5 separate regions of the Homo sapiens genome follow, and all the other regions are linked to region 1. The links are contacts of gene promoters, found by promoter capture Hi-C in blood cells and fetal thymus (Javierre and others, 2016). All regions are on one chromosome and are shown on one strand. Each heading gives the region's core, a stretch centred on a gene start or on the middle of the fragment in contact. The rest is flanking DNA. Distances are from core to core; before and after follow the strand shown. Region 1 holds the start of NUAK2 (NUAK family kinase 2). Region 2 overlaps NFASC (neurofascin). Region 3 overlaps NFASC (neurofascin). Region 4 has its middle 14 kb from the start of ELK4. Region 5 overlaps SLC45A3 (solute carrier family 45 member 3).

Region 1 (4,276 bases), core at 244-2,743:
GTTTCGTTTTGTTTTGTTTTGTTTTGTTTTTGAGACGGAGTCTCGCTCTGTTGCCCAGGCTGGAGTGCAGTGGCACGATCTCGGCTCACTGCAAGCTCCGCCTCCTGGGTTCAGGCCATTCTCCTGCCTCAGCCTCCCGAGTAGCTGGGACTACAGGCGTCCGCCACCACGCCCGGCTAATTTTTTGTATTTTTAGTAGAGACGGGGTTTCACTGTGTTAGCCAGGATGGTCTCGATCTCCTGACCTCACGATCCGCCCGCCTCGGCCTCCCACAGTGCTGGGATTACAGGCGTGAGCCACCGCGCCCGGCTATCTCACCGCAAGTTCTATGTGTTAGGAGCAATATAAGTTCATATTTCGATCTTATTCAATCCTCACAGCAGCTTGTGAGGCAGGCTGTGTTTTCTACAGTTCTGCAAAAGGGGAAACAAAGTACAGAGATGAAGGAAATTGCCCAAGGTCACACAGACTGCTAGACTCCTACGCTCGCACCAAAGTAACAGGGCATGTTCTTGAAAAGGCCCCCAAACCGAAAGGTGTCTCTGGTACAGTGGACCTGGTTTCACATTTTCCAGAATCAAAAACTCATCATAATGAAATTTCAACTAAATTTTAGAGCTGGAAAGGACCTAAATGTCAAAACCCACCCCGTGCCAGAGCTCCAGTGTGCTGGGTTGCCAGATTCTTGGAGTTGGGGAAATCCACACCTCATCCATTCATTCAACCACACACATATTTACCAAATACCTATTAAGATGGGGTGCCTTCTACTTCCTCTTTCCATTGCACTCTATTGAACAGTCTTTTCCCAGCAAAACTCAACTTAAGTCCCATCCATCTTATCCCAGGACACGACACGATTCGTTTTTCCGCGCCAACTATCCATAGCCTCCCTTTTATTTGGCAATCATCACAGCAGTACGGTGTTGCTGGCTGGGGTTCGCAAGTTTGCGACCACTGTCCCTGCAATCACGGACTGACACATCTGCCAGGGACACCCCGCAGTAGCCCCGCAAGCTCAGCGCGGTAAAGACCACGCTGGCCTCTCCGCCGAGCAACGAGCGAGCCGCCGCCCGCCCTCCTCCGCTCCCTGCCGGCGGCCAAGCCGGAGCCCGCCCCGCGCCGCGAGAGGGAGCCGCACTCACCAGGCGCCCCGAGCTCTCCCGCGCCTTCTTCACCTTCCCGTAGGTGCCTTTGCCCAGGGTCTCCAGGAACTCGTAGCGGTGCCGCAGGTTGTGCTTGTGGTGGTGCCGCTTCACCGCCTGCTTCTTCATTAGGGGCTTGGGCGACTTGATCAGCCCTTCCGCCAGCGGCCGGGCTAGCTCTGCGGCCGAGGGAGTGGGGCCGGAGCGCCGCGCGAAAACCAGCGACTCCATGGCGAGCAGGAGGTGAGCAAGGGCGGCAGGGGAATCAGTAGGCTGTGCGGGGAGGGCTGAAGCGCGGGGCACAGGTCCCGCACCAGGACGGGGAGCCACAGCAGTACCAGAGCGCGCAGTAAAGCACAGCATTCCAAGTTGTTATAAACGCCCTGAGCCCGAGGCCCTGGACACGCCCCCCGGCGCCCATTGGCCTGCTCGACGGCGGCGCGTGACCACGGCCGTCCACATTGGCTCTCCGGGGCTCCAGGCCCCGCCTCCTCCCCCTCGGCGTGGCCGGGAAAGGTGTCAATGGAACCCGCCCACCAGGAATGGGGACTAGGGGATTCCAGCGAAGGCCGCCTGAGGCCCAGAAGCTTACTCTGAGGGCCCTTGGAGCTGCACTTGCCTCTGAGTGGCGCTTGGTCCTGCTTAATGCCCTGTTGTTTTATTGTACTCTGTTCTCAGTTGGCAAGGGGCGATCTGAGGGCACTAAAGGTCACCAAAGTATTTCTTCATCCTGAGTAATTTGCTTGTCCCAAGCCAAAATCTATAATTGCTTGACCACTTCATTGAGTCCATAAAGGAGAAAGGGAGCTGGGATGGAACAGAGGCAGAATCCAGCCTAGTGGGAGGGTTAGTGCAGAGCTGTCCTATGGTTCGAGTTCACTTGTCTTCAGTTAGATCAACCTTACTTGGATATTGGAATCCAATGGCCCTGGAAACTTCTTCCTTCTTCCTCAAAGAGGGCTTCTTAGGCGAATCGCTTGAGGTCCAGGAGTTCAAGACCAACCTAGCCAACATGACGAAATCCCATCTCCACTAAAGATACAAAATTAGCCGGGCGTGGTGGTGCGCGCTTGTAATCCCAGCTACTCTGGAGGCTGAGGCAGAAGAATCGCTTGAACCCAGGAGGCAGAGGTTTCAGTGAATCAAGATGGCGCCACTGCACTCCAGCCTGGGCAACAAAGTGAGGCTCCGTTTCAAAAAAAAAGAGGGCTTCTAAGGTTTAGTAGATTCCCTCAACCACTTAGTGGAATTTATTTAGGATGTGTCGGCTGGAGGTGGAGAGAACCCGAAGGGATACATATTTATTTAACATTTTTACATGCCGACTATCTAACCTGTGTCCCTAAGTCTGAAAATGGTTGCTCCACCCAAGGTTTTCTTGTGATTTTGGTGCCAGGAGCACTGGTGGTAGGTTATGAGGTTTGACTTGAGACGGAGTCTCCCTCTGTCGCCCAGGCTGGAGTGCAGTGGTGCGATCTCTGCTCACTGCAAGCTCCGCCTCCCGGGTTCACGCCATTCTCCTGCCTCAGCCTCTCCGAGTAGCTGGGACTACAGGCGCCCGCCACCACGCCCGGCTAATTTTTTGTATTTTTAGTAGAGACAGGGTTTCACCATGGTCTTGATCTCCTGACCTCGTGATCCGCCCGCCTCGGCCTCCCAAAGTACTGGGATTACAAGCGTGAGCCACTGCGCCCAGCTTGACTTAGTTTTTGAGGCCTGGAGTTGCTAGGTCCAGAATCTCCACTCTGAGTGCTCATTTACAGTGAAATGAGAATGGCCATAGGTTTTCCTTCTTGCTTTAAATGGCAGAAAGGGAACATTTCCCCTTTGGCCATCTTGATAACCTAATCCTGTGAAATGAGTATTATTCTGTCCAAGGCCACACAACTGGTAATAAAGTGGCGGGATTTAGACCCTGGTCCTGAGGAAGAGAATAGAGGACAATAGACCTGGATCCTCTTCCCTGAGGGAAACCCCTTCTGCCAGCCAGTTTAGGGCCCTGGATGGATTCTAGCTATGCTGGAGAGCCAGCCTTCCCCTCAGGCCTTCAGGAGGATGGTGCCTCCCCTGTGTATCCAGGGCATGCTGAGGATGGAGAAGGACCCACCCCCAGTGGCTGCCCACTTTTCTACTTCCACTGATCCTTTGATTATTTTTCTAGTGTGAGTTACAGATGTCTCCATCCCTCCATGGAGCTCTTTATCTCCTTTGTGACTGGAGAGGATCCATCTTACACAGGAAACCAATGTATCGCTCCCAAATTTGGAGGGCCACAGGAGGTGGCAGCTGGTTTGGCATTCTTCCCTCCACCAGCCTCCCCTTTTGCTGTGGGTTTTCTGTGCAAATAGGATGAGGCCCAGAGATAGTTGCCTTGACTTGCTATCTCCTTTCCCCTCTGAAATCTGCTTCTATTCCTGGGGGCTCATCCAGATGATTAGAATTCTCAAAAGGAAGTATGGATAACATAAGAGCAAGCACAGGGCCGAGTGTTGGGGGACCTGAGTTCGAGTCCTGACTCTGACACTAACCAGTTCTGTGGCCTTCTACTAATTACTTCATTCTACAAATACTGGTGCCCACTAGGTGCTGAGCCTGGGGACACAATCATGACAAGATTCCTGCCTTTGGAATGTTCTCAGTCTAGTGAGAAATAAACAAGTAAATCCTGTACAGAGGGAGAAGGGTCCATGATGGAAGAAGAACAGATTGCCTTTTCTTTTTTTTTGAGACGGAGTTTTGCTTTCGTTGCCCAGGCTGGAGTGCTGTGGTGTGATCTCGGCTCACCACAGCCTCCGCCTCCCGGGTTCAAGCGATTCTTCTGCCTCAGCCTCCTGAGTAGCTGGGATTACAGGCATGCGCCACCACACCCGGCTAATTTTGTATTTTTAGTAGAGACAGAGTTTCTCCATGTTGGTCAGGCTGGTCTTGAACTCCTGACCTCAGGTGATCTGCCCGCCTTGGCCTCTCAAAGTGTTGGGATTACAGGTGTAAACCACTGCGCCCGGCTCAGATTTTCTTTAAGATATGTATCCCAGGTGGGAGGAGGCTGGTCAGGCGCAGGTTCCTAAAGCCAGGACTTTTTAAGTTGAGACCTGAAGGACAAGTGGCAATTGGCCAGCTGAATCAACAT
Region 2 (4,505 bases), core at 446-2,945, 320 kb before region 1:
CTCAAGTTCTGTGAGACGCTGCAGAGGACCTGGCCATGGCCTTGATCTTATCTAGACCTTGGGAACACCCCTCAACCATCCTCACCTCACTTCAGCAGAATGGCTGTCTAGGACTTTAAAAATGAATGTTCACCTTTATCGTGCCTTACATCTTGGAAAAAGATGTTTCATAAGTTTACTCTTCTCAGGGTGAAATAGGCCTTTTTATTTGTCCTTCGCCTGTCTTTTTCAGATTTCCAGGGAGATTCCTTAATTCTTACATTCCAGGAGTCAGTGAGACAATCTATGCTTCCCCTCCCTGACCCTTTTTGTGTTTCTCGGTGTTGATATTTCACATGCTTGGTCCTTCTCTTTGAACTTTTTAGTGCTTCCGGGTCATCATCCTGATCTCTCTGTGGCAATGCCTTCCTCCAGCTCCCACCTCTAAATCATCTTGGCTTCCCACTGCCTGGCCTTTTCTAAAAGAACCCCAATCTTCATTGCCTTTAAAACAGCCAGATTTGAGTCAATTTCATATTGGTGGCCAGACTGTTTAAACACAAATTCTCTAGCTATTTACAGGGCTCAGAGCTGAGGAGGAAGAAACTCAAGTCCCCAAATAATGACTAATCACAATTCATTCTCACCAGCAAGAGCCATGAAATTCTAAGGAGCTGGAATTTGGGATGGCTTCAAGTGGCCAGTACAATTGAAGCGTCTGGCAGACAGGCAAAGAAGCCTACCTTCTCCCCTCCCCACGGTGCCATCAATGGAATCACTTTCTTGGTCCCTCACTTAATATGAATCATATTCACCTGGGGCAACCAACGCCTGACAGAGTTGTAGTGCAGAAGGCACCTCTTTGAAGTGAAAACCAGGAGATCTTTTATCACTTCCCCAGCCCTGCAGGCTCAGTCACATGTCAAATAGATAATGAATAAATGCATCGCCAATGCACTCTATTCATTTATTTTTGACAAGTGAGTTGGTGACAGTGCCCCCTTGCATGCTAATAAAATATACAGCAGCCACACTTGTAAAGTCTTTGAAATACGAGGCTTCATGCAAGTACTCCACTATTAAATCTTTGCTGGAAAATGGGGTAACCAGACTGCTGGGACTCTTGCAAAATGATTACGTTTGAAGATTAGTGCCATTCTCCTCTACACAGGCTATGGTTTCAGACAGCACCATGGCTTTGATAAAGTGGCTCCCAGCTCATAGGAACTTGATAATTAATGTCCTCTGTGTTGCATAGAGATCAGGCATCAAAAACTCGGTGGTGCTGAGACGCCAACAGAACAGGATTCTTCTGGTGTCTGGACCACTGAGGGCTGGTTGTCAAGGAGTTATCTTCTCTTGGTCGCACCTAGTCCACGTGAGGGAGAGGAAGGCTTCACATTGTCTTTACTTGGGCCCCTGAGATTCTAGGCTTTAGACAATCTGAAGCTGTTAGACCTATCAGCCAGGCTTCTCTCTGACCAAGGACAACCCAAGGGGCTCCTTAGACCAGCCTCACCTGTCTGGATCACCATTCTCCTCCAGCTTCAAAAGTCCATCCTTCCTGCAAATCTCATCAAGACTCGCGGCTCTTAAAGATAACCCTCTCCTTCCTGCAGCACTTCTATGCTTGAAGGGGAAGGGGCTGGCACACATCTTCTCTGTGTGGCCTCCTCCTCCTGGCCACACGGCCTTTTTCCTGGCCCCTTTCCTTACACTGTTGACATGACAAGGGATCTGAAAAGGGAATAAGTCCAGGTTAAAGCCTCAAATGGCACAGATCAAAACCCACTCTTTCTACAAAAATTTGCCGGGCATGGTGGCGGGGGCCTGTAATCTCAGCTACTTGGGAGGCTGAGGCAGGAGAATCGCTTGAACCTGGGAAGTGGAGGTTACAGTGAGTCGAGATCGCACCACTGTACTCCAGCTTGGGCAACAGAACAATACTCCATCTCAAAAAAAAAAAAACAGAAAACAAAAAAACTCTTTCATTCCTAACGCTACCTATGTGGACACAGTCAGTTTCCAGCTCTCCCTCCGAAGTCCTCCCGACTGTACCTGCTTGTCCCTGGACAGCGACCTCTGGCCTGGCCACCAAGGCTGCAGCTTGGAGCTCTGTCAGGCCCTGTGCACAGCCATTTCTGACTCTCCCCTTTCCTAGATGACTGTGTGTACATGTGTGCGTGCGCGAGTGTGGGCATGTGCGTGCATGCACACGCTTGTGTGTATGTGTGTGTCTCCATATCTCTGGTGCCACTCCCTCCTCATCACTAACCCCTTTTCTAACCCGTCCACCAGCCCCTGATGAGCAGTCCATATGGAACGTCACGGTGCTCCCCAACAGTAAATGGGCCAACATCACCTGGAAGCACAATTTCGGGCCCGGAACTGACTTTGTGGTTGAGTACATCGACAGTAAGCATTGCTGTGCGGGGTGGTGGTGGCGGCAGCGGCGTCGGCAGCAGCGGCGGGTAGTGGTAGATGCCATTAAAGAGCTCCTGTGAACTCCCCCAGGCTCAGAGAGGCCTTTTAGCCTGGCTTAATTATGGCTTAATGAAATCGATATGCACTCAGGCGGCAGTGAGGTGGGAGGAACAGGCTCAAGGAAAAGGAAGGGGGCTTCTCAAGCCATTAGTGGAAGTCTAGGATTGCATGTCTGTGGAGGACCTGGGTAAAGGGGCCCTTCATTCATTTCCTGCCCAGGATGAGGGTTCTGAATAGCCCCCAAATGAGCCAAATCTGTCCTCTGCATTGATCTCCTTAACTCAGGCTCCACTTGACTGGGTGAGCCAGTTCACAGACTTGGACTATAACCCTGCTTTGCTCCCAGAGGAATGCCAGCGGCCCCCAGTCAGAGCCACAGACCAGAGCCATTTGTCCCAGCTGGTGGCTTGAGCTGAGTTGCTCACCCTTTGCTGGAGCTTGGGACCAAGGGTACAGATTCGTTGGACTGCAGAGTGTGGCCCCTGAGTGAAGGACCCTGTTCCTACAGGGTCAAACCCACCATCCTGGCATCTTCAGTATGTGCTCTAAGCAATTAAGCCAACTAACCCAGCCAGCAAATCCACCTGGGATAGCCTACCCAAAGACCCTCTCAGGAGAGAGCAAAGCTGACTTAGTTCTCTCTGGTTGGAGGAGGAGTTCACATCCACAGCACCTGGACTCCATAGTTTGGTCCATACTTTTTCAGGCTCCTACTACCCCTATTCACCCTACAGCCTACATGCACAGGCACACACTTTTTCTGATGTGGGAATTCACCACATGGTGAGAAATGAGAGGTGAAACTAGGAATGAGAGCCAAGAGACAGAGTCCCAGCTCATCTCTGGTTTTCAGGAGGGATGCTAACTGGCTTTTGGCCCTCACCAGCCAGATCCATGTGAAAAGTTAATCGCTTCCAGGGCAACAGAGCATCTGCTGACAAGCTGAGAGTTTAAGGAAGTAGGTTATAATATGTCTAGTGTGAAGACTGTGGTGAGGAAAGCGAACTTCAGGAGAGGGAACGGTGTCCCCAGCTGAAGGGTCGTTTAAAAGCGTTAGTATTGCACAGACAGGCATAGGGAAGCTGCCTGGAAACCTCCTGGTCTGTATGGTGGACTGGACCCGCGGTTCCCTGGTCCCTTCCCCCACACTTTCTACCTTTGACAGGTGACCAGGACCTAAGCACTGGCTCTCCAGCTCCTGGTGCCTGGCTCTAGGCTGATTGAGGTTTCTGTTCCCCAGGCAACCATACGAAAAAAACTGTCCCAGTTAAGGCCCAGGCTCAGCCTATACAGCTGACAGACCTCTATCCCGGGATGACATACACGTTGCGGGTTTATTCCCGGGACAACGAGGGCATCAGCAGTACCGTCATCACCTTTATGACCAGTACAGGTGAGAGGGGACCTGGCCTGGCCATCCCCTGCAAGCATGGGGCATTTCATTCTCATCCTCAGCTTCCTGCTTGCCTCTCTCCTCGGAAAGAAGACTCATCCCCCACCCCATTTCCCACCTTGCATGGCGTGTCTCAGCTCTTATTATGTATCAGCTGAAGGCTCCCAGGAAGCCTAGAGGAGCCCAGTGTGCATGCGTAGTGGAGAGGAAACAGTGATTGTGGCCCCGTGCGGGTCAGAAGGAAACAAAGGATGTTTAATGACAACAGAGAACACTTAGCCCCCTGCTCTGCCTGGTGTGTGTGCACATTTGGTCACTGTCTGTGGGTCTGGGGGCTGCAGGAGAGTAGTGCAGCCTGGCCTGTGCGCACAGGGGCTGGCTCCCTTCATGCAGGATCAGGGGATAGGGCCAGCGCAGGGCCTTGATCTAGAAATCGCTCCAGGAGATCAGTGCATTTGTTACTCCCTTGCCACCATCATCTATTGTTAAAAATTTCAAAGTGAGTGACACAACTTGTTTGGGGCTTTGTTTTTGTCCCAAATTTGTCTTGGCCTAAAAGTAGGTGATTTTTTGTCATGCAGGGAGAGGGGAAGAAGCTCTCCAGAACCGGAAAGGTTCTGGCTCTATAGCGGCTTTAGCTGTGGATGAA
Region 3 (4,135 bases), core at 122-2,621, 360 kb before region 1:
TATTTCTCCTCCCTCTTTCTTTTTCTTTCTTCTTTTCCATCTCTCTGTTCTGTCTTGGAACTCCATTCTGCCCTCCTCTAATCATCGCCTCCTGCCTTGCAGTGTCCCCACACACTGATCTGTGTTGGTGCTGGGCTGCCAAAGGTGGTAGCCGGCAGGTTGCCTGACACCTGCAGCAAGCCCCTCGAGTTCCTGGCAGGGTGACCTGGCTTCACTCCAGTTGCTCCCCCGTCCCTGACTTTCTCATTCCTGACCCAAGCCCAGGGAGACCCCTTGGAGGAGAAAGTTGGTTTGTCTGCAGTGTCTCCTCAGTCCACATCAGGGTGACTGCCTGCCAGCTGGCTGGGCTGGGAAGGACAGTGTAGTCTGCCCAGGACCTCGGAGTGGCCTCAGCAGCCAGGACAGGACTAACAGCATTGGCAGGGGGAGGAGCAGGGATGTCAAGAACAAGATAACATGCTCGCTGAGCTGAGCCTGGACAGCCATCAGCATCACCACCAGGGCCCCTCTCTCCTTGCCCAGACGACGCTAGAAATCGGCCTGCTGCTTTTGGAACTGAGTCAGTTGACCTTCTGTCATCCTGGGCAGAGCCCATCACTGTCACACAGAGTAGAGCAGAGGCCAAGAGACTGAGGTGGTGAAGAGTCTTCCTCTGTAGAATTAACTAACTTCCTCTGCAGTTAGAGATTTAAACAACATGTAGAACTTGGACTTTCCAGAAACACTCTTCTCTACCAGAAGAAGTAAGGGATGTTTGTTAATTCTTCATTTCTAGGTCCTCTATTCCACTGAAAACTCTTTCCTCCGAATGGCGAGAGACCCCCTAGGTGATTGGAACAGAGCCCCATCAGCTTCCTGGAGTTCTCCCAGGGGCAGCTCTGGCTGGGAGCAAGTTCTGGGCATCTGAGCCAGCCCAGAATTGGGCACACTTGCTTAAAATAGCACAGTGGTGCTCTCTCTACTTTCCTGTCTGGAGAGGACACAGGCTTTCTCTTGTACCTTCAGAACCAGGTCTGGGGTGGGAGGCAAAGCAGTCAGGCAGGGGCAGCTTCAAAGGCCCTATTCTCACCAGGCACTCCTGTCACAGTTTGCCCATTTGGGAAGAAATAAATCTCATCATGTCCCATTTTTATTACCTGCATTGAAGGAAGTTGACAATGGTATGTAATGCAAAATACTGGGTAATCTGAAATCATTTTTAAAACCTGGGATGCAGTCAAAGATAAGCAGTGGAGTTGGGCTACAGAGCTGGGCCCGTCCCACTCTGCCTATGCTGTAACAGGTGCTGGGTGCCTCCTGATGCAATAAGAGGCAACTGTGGTAAGCGAGGAGGGTCCTCCCTAAGGCAGACACCAGGGCACACCCCTTCTTCCTCCAGTGTCTAAGTGACATTCTTGGAGCAGTCAAAGAAGTTTCCGTGAATTTCTCACATGTGCTCCAGAATTCACAAACCACGAGGTCAGTTCTGGGCGTGGGCTACTTCTCTGGAGAGAGATAGGTTACATTTCACCTGGTGATATGGGAGCATGAAGGAAGGGCCCTGTCATCTGTATGTGCCACCATCCACCCCCAGGAGAGGAACAGAGTTGCCTCCCAAGCCCAGCTGCAGCCCCCACCTGCCCTTGGGCCACCCCATCTCTTCGTTACATTGTGGATTTATTCCTGCCTTTAGCTCCAGATGGACCCAAGCAGACTTCCCAAACAGGCTGGGTCTTTACAACAAACCCCATCTTAAGAGAGAGTTCTGAATAATGAAAATCTTCCTACCAGGTGGCAAGCAGATTTGGGATGCAATGCAATGCCAGTCCCAGAAAAGGACTCTCATACTTCTTGCAACTAGTTGTAATGGGATTGGATCTGTCGACAAATATGCAAATGTTTTGGCAGAGCCCCTGTTGTCCCTCGAGCAGTTGGACCATGTTCTTGCCTCCTCAGGGCCATCTGCTTGGCTTCCAGTCAGCTGTATACCCCACCCCCTTTTAGTACTGTCACAATTTGAACCCAGTTGCTGGAAGGGACCAGAGGTAGAGAGGGAAAAGCTCCTTCAGGACGCTGGCGTGATGATGTGTCCTCTTCTGAAATGTCTTTCTCATTAAGGAGTAAATGCCCACGAGTTTGAATTACCTAACATTGGAACTGAAGCCACTGATCTTGCTCCATAAGGAATGTCTTCAATCCTGCATAGTCTAGAGAGCTTCGAACCTCCAGAACGTTCAGGAGGACTTTCCTAGTCTGAAATGTAGAACTCACAGCTTGCACTTTCTCCTGTCCCAAGCTCCAATTCTAAATTCTAAAGCCTGAACCTCAGGGATGTTCTCCCCACCTCACTGAACCTCTCCCGGCATCCTCACAAGGAGGGCTTTCTGCCAACAGAGACATCTCCAAGATCATAGTGGTGCCCACCTGGGCAGACTCCAGTGACACATGTTGCTGGGTGTGGCCAGGGCCCCTTGGCCCAACTCTTTTGGTCAATGACCTCCTCCCATTTACCACCAACCTCCTGCAGCTTAGCTTCTGCCCAGGCAGCACTTTGCTCTTCCCCGGAGCTCACTAACACTCCTTTCTCTTTAGCTGCTCCAAGAGCTAGCCTGACCCAGAGTCCTGGGAACTGAGGATTTTGATAAGAAGGAGTTGTTCAAAAGATGGCTACAGGACACCACTAATCCTTCTCTCATTTGTTTGAAAATATAGCAGGACCAATTAATTAAAGTTCAAACCTAATTTCTTTAATTTTAAAAAAACCATTACTGTATTATTGCCTTCTTTTGCAGGATTTAACCTTTTTTTCTCCTTTTGTGGGCTGTTTTGTGTTGCTTGTTCTTCACTGAGCGTATTGCCTTTCCAAATATGCCGTGTCTTTCCTTTGCAAAAGACCACTGCTGCCCTCCTCAGTTGTTTTTCTGGCTTTGCATTTGTTTTCTCTCCCCGTTTATGCCTCTGTGACTTCTCCGTGGCCTCCTGTTTGCTCACCCTCTTTTGTTTGTTACAGACCACCCTTATAATGACTCGTCCTTAAGAAACCACCCTGACATGTACAGTGGTGAGTCGCAGCGGTAACCTTGGGAGTAACCTTGCCTGTGCTAACCCCAGTTTGCCTAACTTGACTGATACCACGTCATTAACTCCTGCTGGGTGGCAGCTGGCCCAGCCAGGGTGCCAAGGTGACACCTCCAGAAGGCTGCCTGCCAGGAGGCAGTGTGGGGGTTTGAGGTGGCTCACCTGGTGGTGTGGTCTCCTCTAACAGGCATGCCTCAAGTTGCTGAATTCTCAACAAGTTGTTCAAACCAGGGTAGGACTTCAAAAGAACTTCTTGAAAAGCAGGAACTTTTACTGAAAAAGTAGAAGCTTAGGAATCAAGAATGGATGAAGGGAGACTATCTTAAAATAGGTGAGTTCCATAGTGAAGAGAAAACAGGAAGTCTGGTTCCTATTGGTAGTTGAAAGAACACAGAAAGCTTGTTAGTATGTTCAGTTAACTCTAGATAGGAATTGCCTGCTTTGTAATCTCACCTTAGTTACCGGGAGTACCATTTCACAGTGAGGTCCCGTGTCTCTTTAAAATCCATCTGGGCAATAGGAGTAAGAGTCCAGCTCTGAGTTCTCTTTCAAGATGAGTATAAATGAGGTGAAACCATCCACCGTACCCTCTCACCTAGGCCTCTCTCCTCCTTTGGTAGTATATGCAAATCAAATGCCCACCAGTCCACACTTGCGAGACATGGAACAATTACAATGAGGCATGGTTTTAACTCATGACACAGCTGGTTGCTCAGTCTGATTAATAGGGTAATTGGCTATTTCCACACCTGAGTTACCCCTCACCATGGCTCAAGAATGTCTTATTTTCCCTGAGCAGCCAGAGGCACCATCATTTGCTGGCTCTGGTGAGGCAGCTGGCCCCCATCATTAGTTATGCCTCAGAAGCTGAGGCTGCAGGTCCTCAAGGGACCTCACTGTGGGCTGAAACAGATAGGAAGTGTCTGCACTGTGATGTGCTAATACAAAGGATGATGAGTGACTGGAGAAGGGGATGGGATGAGGGAGCGCGAGCCAGGGAGAGAGGCAAAGGCTCTAACTTGGCACCAAGCAGCTAGAACCACACTGAGATCCTGCCAAAGAGATTCACTACCCAAGG
Region 4 (3,995 bases), core at 733-3,232, 320 kb after region 1:
TAAAAGAAGAAAAAGAAAATTTAAAAGGATTTTTAGGAAAATATTACTTATAAAATTACTAGATATTCATAAATTAAATAAAATTATTCTTTTTATAGCACACTGAAACAAAAGCCACAAACTCATCTGAAAAACTGTGAAACCACTCATCATTCATAGAGTATTACTAAACTGAATCTAAAGGTCAAAAAAAAGTACTGCAGTAAACCACATGATACGCAAAAGTAAAACACAACTTTTATCTTAGGCCCAGCCACCTGATATTAGAAGCTGGAGCGTTAAGCTGAGGTTGTCCACTTGCCCAAAAGAAATACAGTTTTCATTTGCCCATTCATTTTGTTTGCCCAATAATTCATTTAAACAAACAAGCAAATGTAATGAGCACCTACTATGTGTAAACACAGAGCTAGAGTGGGGGCAACACAACAATGAATAAGATGCAGCTTTTCCCTGGAAGATCTTGGTGGAGGACCAGATTGCAAATTCTTGCCTGGGCTTCAGAAATCAATTTAGTATCATGGCTGGGCGTAGTGGCTCACACCTGTAATCCTAGCACTTCGGGAGGCCGAGGTGGGCAGATCACCTGAGGTCAGAAGTTTGAGACCAGTCTGGCCAACATGGTGAAACCCCATCTCTACTAAAAAAAATACAAAAATTAGCCAGGCGTGGTGGCACGTGCCTATAATCCCAGGTACTGGGGAGGCTGAGGCAGGAGAAATGCTTCAACCTGGGGTGGGGAGCTGAGGTTGCAGTGAGCTGAGATAGAGTCACTTCACTCCAGCCTGAGCGAAAGAGCAAGACTCTGTCTTTAAAAAACAAAAAACAAGCATCGTTTCTCCTAGGAAGCCCTCTCTGATCCCCCAGGGCCCCTCTGAGACTGGGCCCCTCCAGGCACACCCCCATCACAGCACTGTGACACATTCTATAATTGCTTCTGCATATCTCCAGCCCCCTCACTGCTTGGGGACATCCAAGAGGACAAAGACTGCATCTGTCTCTTCACCGTGTCGCAGCCCCAGCACGTGGTAGTTGCTTAATAAATGTGGAAAGACTTAGCAGATGATGAAGTCAAACAAATTTCTGCCCAGTGAACATAAGGACCACAGTAGCAGTATGCTATAAGGAGACTGAGGCAGGAGTGATTAACTTCAGAGGCCATAGAAAGAAATGTTTAAGCTGAGTGTTGGAGAATAAATACAAATTCAGTAGGCAGAGAGCTCTCCATGAAGAGAATGCAGCCAACAGCAAAGGCACTGAGGCTCAACAGAGCAAAGTTTGCTTGAATGGAGGGAAGCAGGTCATCATGGCTGAAGCAGGATTTGAGGGGCTGGGAGAGCTGAGGCGGTGGGCAAAGGGGATAAAGAGGTGTACAAAGCCACACGTGAAGGGGCTTGTTTGTCGCATGCAGAAACGTGAGTCTCCTGAGGGTCCTCCGCCAGCCCAAGCATGAGGTAGTCAGCTCAGTGCTCCGGCCAGATAACCCAGGCTGTAGTACAGGCATGGACCCAGCGGAGGGACAGGCGGGACTGGAGAAAGGAAGAGGGATGGGTTCATGTGTGAGTCCAGAAAGAGATGCTAAGGGCCCAACCATGACAGTAGCAGTGAGGATGGCAATGAGAAAATCAATGTGAGGGATAGGTAGGAGATAAAATCAATAAGACTTAGTGGGTTTTTTTTAATGGCTAATGCATGAAGGCTAGGAAAATATATGTACAATCAATTGAAGTGCTCACATCTTTCAAGAGTTCATTATGTCAAAAACATTCTGCAGCTGTTTCATACAAGGAAATCTTTTTTTTTTTTTTTTGAGTTGGAGTCTTGCTCTGTCACCCAGGCTGAAGTGCAGTGGTGCCATCATAGCTCACTGCAACCTCTGCCTTCCAGGTTCAAGCCATTCTCCTGCTTCAGCCTCCTGAGTAGCTGGGATTATAGGTGCCCGCCACCACCCCAGCTAACTTTTTTTTTTTTTTTTGTAGAGACAGGGTTTCACCATGTTGGCCAGGCTGGTCTTGAACTCCTGACCCCAGGTGATCCACCTGCCTCAGCCTCCCAAAGTGCTGGGATTACAGGCGTGAGCCACTGTGCCCGGCCAGGAAATCATCATTTTTATTCCTATTTTAAAAACAACCTTCTAGTGGTCATTTCTCTCCACTTCCCCCAACTTTGTACCTCAGTACCTATTGGCAGTTATCAAACAGTCTTGTGCTGTTAGAAATAACTTTCCTGGCCAGGCTCGGTGGCTCATGCCTGTAATCCCAAAACTCTGGCAGGCCGAGGCCACAGGATGACTTGAGGCCAGGAGTTTGAGACCAGCCTGGGCAACATAGTGAGACCACATCTCTAATAAATAAAAAAAAGAATAATCATAAAATAAAAATTACCAAAAAAAGGACTTTTCACTTGAACATGTCTTATTTTCCCACAGGGAAAACTGAGAACTCAAAGAGAGCAATGATAGCATTTTAGACATCTTCATACCCACCCCATAGTTGTACGTACCATGGTGCCTTATACCTACCAGGTATCCAGTAAACAGCAATGGCTGGTTGACTGGTTGGTTGGTGTGTATCAGAAGGTGAGGAGACGGGTCAAAAGTCCTCCACTTAAAAAAAAAACACCTTTTTATTTTGGAATATTAGAGTTACAGGACAGCTGCAAAGATAATGCAAAGGTTTCCTATACAGCCTCACCTCCACCTTTGAAAATTGGTGATGGTAGAAGAAAAATAACCCTGAACCAGTGTGCCCTTGGGCAGGTCACACCACCTTAGCAGGCTCCAGTTTTATCACTGAAAGCAAGATAACAGGGTTCGCCTCACTGTCTTAGTCAGCTTGAACTGCTATAACAAAATACCATAGCTGGGCACGGTGGCTCACGCCTGTAATCCCAGCACTTCGGGAGGCCAAGGCGGGTGGATCACGAGGTCAGGAGATCGAGACCATCCTGGCTAACACGGTGAAACCCCGTCACTACTAAAAAAAATACACAAAAAAAATTAGCCGGGCGTGGTGGCGGGCACCTGTAGTCCCAGCTATTCAGGAGGCTGAGGCAGAAGAATGGTGTGAACCCAGTAGGCGGAGCTTGCAGTGAGCTGAGATAGCACCACTGCACTCCAGCCTGGGCGATAGAGCGAGATTCTGTCTAAAAAAAAAAAAGAAAAAAATTCCGTAGACTAGGTGGCTTATAAACAATGGGTATTTATTCCTCACAGTCCTGGGGCCTGGGAAGTCCAAGGTCAAGGCTGTGGCAGATTGAGTGTCTGCTGAGGGCCTGCTTCCTGGCTCATAGAGGCCATCTTCTCGCTGTGTCCTCACATGGCAGAAGGGGCAAGAGAACTCTTTTAAAAGGGCACCAATCCTATTGATGAGGGCTTCCACCCTCATGACCTAATTGCCTCCCAAAGGCTCCACTTCCAATGCCATCACACTGGGGGTTAGGTTTCAGCATAATCTGGGGAGGAGCACAGTCTGTAGCAGCCGCCTCCACACTCTTCACCCATCACTGTAATAAAATCACTGAGAAGAGGTCAGGCAGTGCCGTGTTCTCTGGGTCTAGAGCCTCTCCAGGATCAGGTCCCTCAGCAGGCAGGCAGCTGCTCCCTGTCTGCCTCCTCGGTGCCAAATCTGGGCTGCCAGTGTGTCTTTCATTGCCACAGCCCCAGAACTAACATGAGGCTCAGCATACAGGAAGGTAGACAGATACTACTTGATGGAAAGAAGGAGAGTGCATTAACTAGGGACTGTCAAATACTAAACAGTCAATTGGGGGAGGGGGGTACAGAGTGAGGTCCTGGAATTCTAGAGTTGGGTCTGTAATCCCAGCACTTTGGGAGGCTGAGGCGGGTGGATCACGAGGTCAGGAGATCGAGACCATCCTGGCTAACACAGTGAAACCCCGTCTCTACTAAAAATACAAAAAATTAGCCAGGCGTGGTGGCAGTAGTCCCAGCTACTCCGGAGGCAGGAGAATGGTGTGAACCCAGGAGGCGGAGCTTG
Region 5 (4,565 bases), core at 345-2,844, 340 kb after region 1:
GCAGGATGCCCAAGGACAGTGCCCAGATGAAGGGCCGGCGGCGGCCATAGCGTCCACGCCAGTGGTCACTGGCTGAGCCTAGGAGCGGGACACAGACCAGGCCCAGCACTGGACCAATGCCTGCAAGAAGGGAAGTAGTATGAGTCAATGGCTGGGACAAGTAAAGGGCAAGGGGAAGGGGAACCAAGCTCCGTGAGAAGGATGGAAATAACATTCCGTACTCGACACTGTGCTACGTCTTCACAGGGATGCTGTAATTTACTCCTCATAACACAGGCATTACAGATGCCCCCATTTTCAGATGGACAAACTGAGGCATGGAGCAACTAAGAAGTGATACTTATTCAAAGGCGCAGACCTAGGGAGGGTAAGAGGCAGCGTTTCAACAAGCAGTGTGACTCCAGAGCCTGCAATCCTCACAGGGGCCCCTCTTCCTGGGGGTGAGGGGTTGTCACACAATGGTTACTACTTGCCTTCTGTGGCTTTTGTAGAATTTATCTGCAGAGTCAGGAGTCCACCCCTTGTCCTAGGGGTAGGAGCAAGCTCCGGCTGGGAGACCTTGATGGAGTCCCAGCTCTACTGTTCAGCTGCTATTTGGCTTTGGCTAAGACTTACCTAACCTCTTAAAAGCCTCTGCTTCCTTCTCTGTAAAATGGATCACCTCAAATGGTGGTTGTAAGCATTAAATGAGATAATCGCTATAAATTATAAAAGGGCTAGCCAAAGGTTAGGAGCATTTCTCCAGTGTCTCCTATGAGCCAGGCTCTGTGCAGGACCAGGGATCCAGAGGTGACTGGGGTATGTCCTTGGTATTCTCTTCTTTCTCTTGGTGTGCCCCCTCAGCCCAGGGTCACCCTCCTGCCCAGCAATGCCTTCCCAGCAGACCACCTCTCCCTCCAAGCAGCTCCCAGGGCAGAGGTACTCCTGTCCCACATGCCAGGTGGCATGTATCTGGAACAGGAAGGAAGGAGGATGTAGTGACTCACCCAGCACCATGGTCATGAACTTCTCCTCTACCCCCACTTCCAGCAGCAGAGGCGGCACATAGGTGATGCCTGCGGCCAAACACACCTCCAGGCCAAAGGTTAGCAGGTTGACCAGCAAGAGCTGGGCTTTCCGGTGCCGCAGCAGGCGGCTCACCCACAGCCTCTGGACCATAGTGGGCCAGGCGGGTAGGGCTCAGGGGGCCGTTCAGGCACTCCAGAACTGCTTCGTCTCGGCTCTGCTCCAGAAGCTGCGGCCTCTCCTCCTTGCTGCCGCCAACTGCCTAGGAATCAGCCAGGCGCCCATTTCTGCCAGCCCTTTGGTGCCGGTCCAGCTTCTCAGCCCATGCTCAACACCTGCTGCTGTGGGGCACCTCAGTGGGGACACGTCTCATCACTCAGATCCTAGAAGGGCGGGGCAATCACAAGCACACGGGGTGTTAAGTCCTGGGAGCCAGGTCTCCACGATTTGCTCTAAATTGTCTGGATCCTGATCATTCACAGGCTGGCGACTGGCCCTGTCACCGAGGTGCCACCCCCTTCTGCCCAGTCAGGAAATGCATGTTAATATTAGCCTACGGCTGACATAATTAATAAGGTAAATATGATTTTTTAAACCTCAGCACACTCCAGAGCCAAACAGATGTTGGTTATTCTCTGTTTTGAAAAATCTACAATTTCCCTTCCCTGTTAGTATTGGGGAGCGGGAGGGAGCAATCAAACCAACTGAATTTTTAGTTGCCCAGCTATCAAGGTGCCCCTGGAGACCCTCTGCCAGGCCTGGTTTGTTTGCTTTTGTCTTTCTACTCCCCAAACCTGGGGTGTTCAATTCCCCTTTGTTAAGAGTAACACTTCCTATTCTGCATTGCTTGGCCATGAGCCACACTGCACCACAACCCCTAACCCCAAAGACCAGGATGAAGGGGAAAGGGAGGAGAGGCTGTTTTGTTGGGTTGGGTTTTAACTTACAGAAGGCTCCCTGGGGTGAGCCTAGGCCTGAAAATCTCTCCCTTGAGTTTCTCCCTGAGTTCAACGTTCAAGGGGAAGAAACAATCCCTCACATGGCCGTCCAACTGTCATGGGAGAGTGGAGCCGTCCCCAGGTTCTAGCTCACAGGGGCATGAAACCACACCACCTGGCAATACCTGTAATGATACCAGTGACTCCCCCAAGCTGACAGGATGCCCAGCCACTTCCAGGGCAGCCTTTCTGTGCTCTTAAATGGCAGAGAAAGGAATTTTTCGGTGCTCTTTTCAATTTTCAGCAGAGAAGTCCCACACCCCTTCCTGCTAGCCCTGCCTCCTGTGCAGAAAGAACCATCCTGTACCTCCCCCGCCAAGCAAGCGGTCTCCAAGTCTTGCTTCCCGACAATACAGCCATTGCAGTATCTAAGCCTCTGCTTAGAAGTGACTATGAAAAGCTGGGTGCGGTGGCTCATGCTTGTAATCCCAGGACTTTGGGAGGCCAAGGCAGGCGGATCACTTGAGGTCAGGAGTTCAAGACCAGCCTGGCCAACATGGTGAAACCCCATCTCTGCTAAAAATACAAAAATTAGCCAGGCATGGTGGCAGGTGCCTCCACCACCCCCAGCCCCTACTCATGCCCTCTGCCAATCTCAGCACCTCATTATAAAAGGCATTTCAACTTATCTTATCTTTTCACACAATACTAAACCCCATGGGGCCTTGCATATTACAAAGCGTGTTGTGGGTGCTCTGAGCTGTGCCACAGAGAAATCAGCCAGGACTGAGTGTGGTGGCTCATGCCTATAATCCCAGAACTTCAAGAGGCCAAGGCAGGAGGATCACTTCAGCCTGGGAGTTTGAGACCAGCCTGGGCAACACAGCGAGACCCCCTCTCTACAAAAAATTTAAAAATTATCCAGGCGTGGTAGTATGCACCTGTGGTCCCAGCTACTTAAGAGGCTGAGATGGGAGGATTGCTTGAGCCTGGGAGGTCAAGGGTGCAGCGCGCAGTGATTGGACCACTGCCTCCAGTCTGGGTGACAGAGGGAGACACTGCCTAAAAAAACATCAGATGGCTATCAGTCCTGGGTAAGGTCTGTTCACTCCACCACCACCTTCAGGGGCTTTGCAGCTGGCAGATCATGAAGGAAGGGAATTGAGATAAGGCTGGGCAACCAGCAGCCTCCTCCCCTAAATCCTGCTCAGACTCACCCTTTGGGATGGGGCACACGGCCTCCTACGGAGGTGGCATGAGAAGGGGTGTAAAATACTGACCCATACTGTCTCCAAAAGGAAGGTGGAAGGCCAGACCTCAGTCTTAGCTGAGCTGTCATAGGTTCAACTTGAGCATCTCATTGCTGCATTTCCACAGTACCCCCAAGAAGGAAAGCAGGAGACAGCACAGAGACCAAGAGGCAGTGCTATCCAGCCTAAAGGGAGGGGTTCTGCGGCCAAAGGCTTCCAGCCCATTCCACTCCCCACCCTTGTTCTGGGAGGGCCCTGAATGCTAACCTGCTCTGGGTTTTCAGGAGACCAGGTCCTCCCTGAGCAAACAGAGACTTTGTTAGACCCAGCCTCGCCTATAACCTGCACCCATTCTCTAAGTCCTGGCTGCTCCCTATTGTTTAAAATAAATTGCAGGCCAGGCACAGTGGCTCACATCTGTAATCTCAGCACTTTGGGAGGCTGGAGTGGGATGATGGCTTGAGGGCAGGAGCTTAAGAACAGCCTGGGCAACATAGAAAGACCCTGTTTCTACAAAAATAAAAATAAAATAGGCCAGGTACAGTGGCTCATGCCTGTAATCCCAGCACTTTGGGAGGCCAAAGCAGGCAAATTACCTGAGGTCAGGAGGTTCGAGACCAGCCCGGCCAACGTGGTGAAACCCCATCTCTACTAAAAATACAAAAATTAGCTGGGCATGGTGGCGTGCGCCTACAATCCCAGCTACTCGGGAGGCTGAAGGAGGAGAATTGCTTGAACCTGGGAGGCGGAGGTTGCAGTGAGCCGAGATTGTGCCACTGCACTCCAGCCCCATGACAGTGCGAAACTCCATCTCAAATAAAAATAAATACATAAGATAAAAAATAAATAAATAAAAATTAGCTGGGCATGGTGGCATGCACCTATAATCCCAGCTACTCAGGAGGCTGAGGTGGGAGGATCTCCTGAGTCCAGGAGTTCGAGGCTGCAAGTGAGCTATGATCGTGCCAGTGTTCTCCAGCCTGGGCAACAGAGTGAGACCTGGTCTCTAAAAAATAAAAAAATAAAAATAAACCACAGCTGTCCAGCAACCATTAATCACCCCACCTGCCTTGCCCCTCCCTTAATCAAGTTCCCAGGCCCCCCAGGAATTAGCAGGATCCTTCTTAGCCCACATGGGAAAAAGACAAAAAGAAAGAGGTAAAGAGAAGAGTGCCCCCCACCATCCTCCTACAGCCCAGATAGCTCATTAGTAGCCTCCCAGTTCCTGGGGTGCCTTTCTCCAACGCCCCCCATCCCCACCCAGAGATTCTTTACCTGGTAACTTGGGGTTGGGCCAGGTGGGGAAAGGATTTGACTAGGAAGGGTGCAGGCTTCAAGCACCCCTGTATTCTTTGGTGGCAGAGTCCGTCCT

The links. Contacts are between HindIII fragments. The CHiCAGO score rates a contact against its expected background, and 5 or more counts as called.
Region 2: a contact is called between a fragment that was not itself captured here and the fragment with the promoter of NUAK2 in region 1, in 1 of 17 cell types (neutrophils). The highest score is 5.3, in neutrophils.
Region 3: a fragment that was not itself captured here is called in contact with the fragment with the promoter of NUAK2 in region 1 in 1 of 17 cell types (neutrophils); the score reaches 6.0 in neutrophils.
Region 4: a fragment that was not itself captured here is called in contact with the fragment with the promoter of NUAK2 in region 1 in 1 of 17 cell types (naive B cells); the score reaches 5.3 in naive B cells.
Region 5: a fragment that was not itself captured here is called in contact with the fragment with the promoter of NUAK2 in region 1 in 1 of 17 cell types (total B cells); the score reaches 5.1 in total B cells.

The regions. Positions count from the first base shown.
Region 1 is chr1:205,320,252-205,324,527 of GRCh38, forward strand. It overlaps NUAK2 (NUAK family kinase 2), which reads right to left and starts at 1,494. Exons shown (of 7, transcript NM_030952.3): 1 at 1,147-1,494. The coding sequence starts at 1,377. RefSeq lists a silencer at 1,001-1,180. The HindIII fragment of the contact is 5,000 bases long and covers 1-1,731 here.
Region 2 is chr1:204,998,893-205,003,397 of GRCh38, forward strand. It overlaps NFASC (neurofascin), which reads left to right. Exons shown (of 30, transcript NM_001005388.3): 26 at 2,278-2,394; 27 at 3,704-3,856. Among named protein-coding and RNA genes, the nearest start is that of CNTN2, 42 kb to the right of the region's middle. The HindIII fragment of the contact is 8,859 bases long and covers 1-4,505 here.
Region 3 is chr1:204,959,119-204,963,253 of GRCh38, forward strand. All of the region lies in intron 8 of NFASC (neurofascin), which reads left to right. Among named protein-coding and RNA genes, the nearest start is that of CNTN2, 82 kb to the right of the region's middle. The HindIII fragment of the contact is 3,943 bases long and covers 1-3,343 here.
Region 4 is chr1:205,644,204-205,648,198 of GRCh38, forward strand. No RefSeq gene overlaps it. Among named protein-coding and RNA genes, the nearest start is that of ELK4, 14 kb to the left of the region's middle. The HindIII fragment of the contact is 8,490 bases long and covers 1-3,995 here.
Region 5 is chr1:205,663,499-205,668,063 of GRCh38, forward strand. SLC45A3 (solute carrier family 45 member 3) reads right to left here. Exons shown (of 5, transcript NM_033102.3): 2 at 987-1,388; 3 at 1-120. The coding sequence starts at 1,158. Among named protein-coding and RNA genes, the nearest start is that of SLC45A3, 15 kb to the right of the region's middle. RefSeq lists an enhancer at 507-1,706. The HindIII fragment of the contact is 6,723 bases long and covers 1-4,565 here.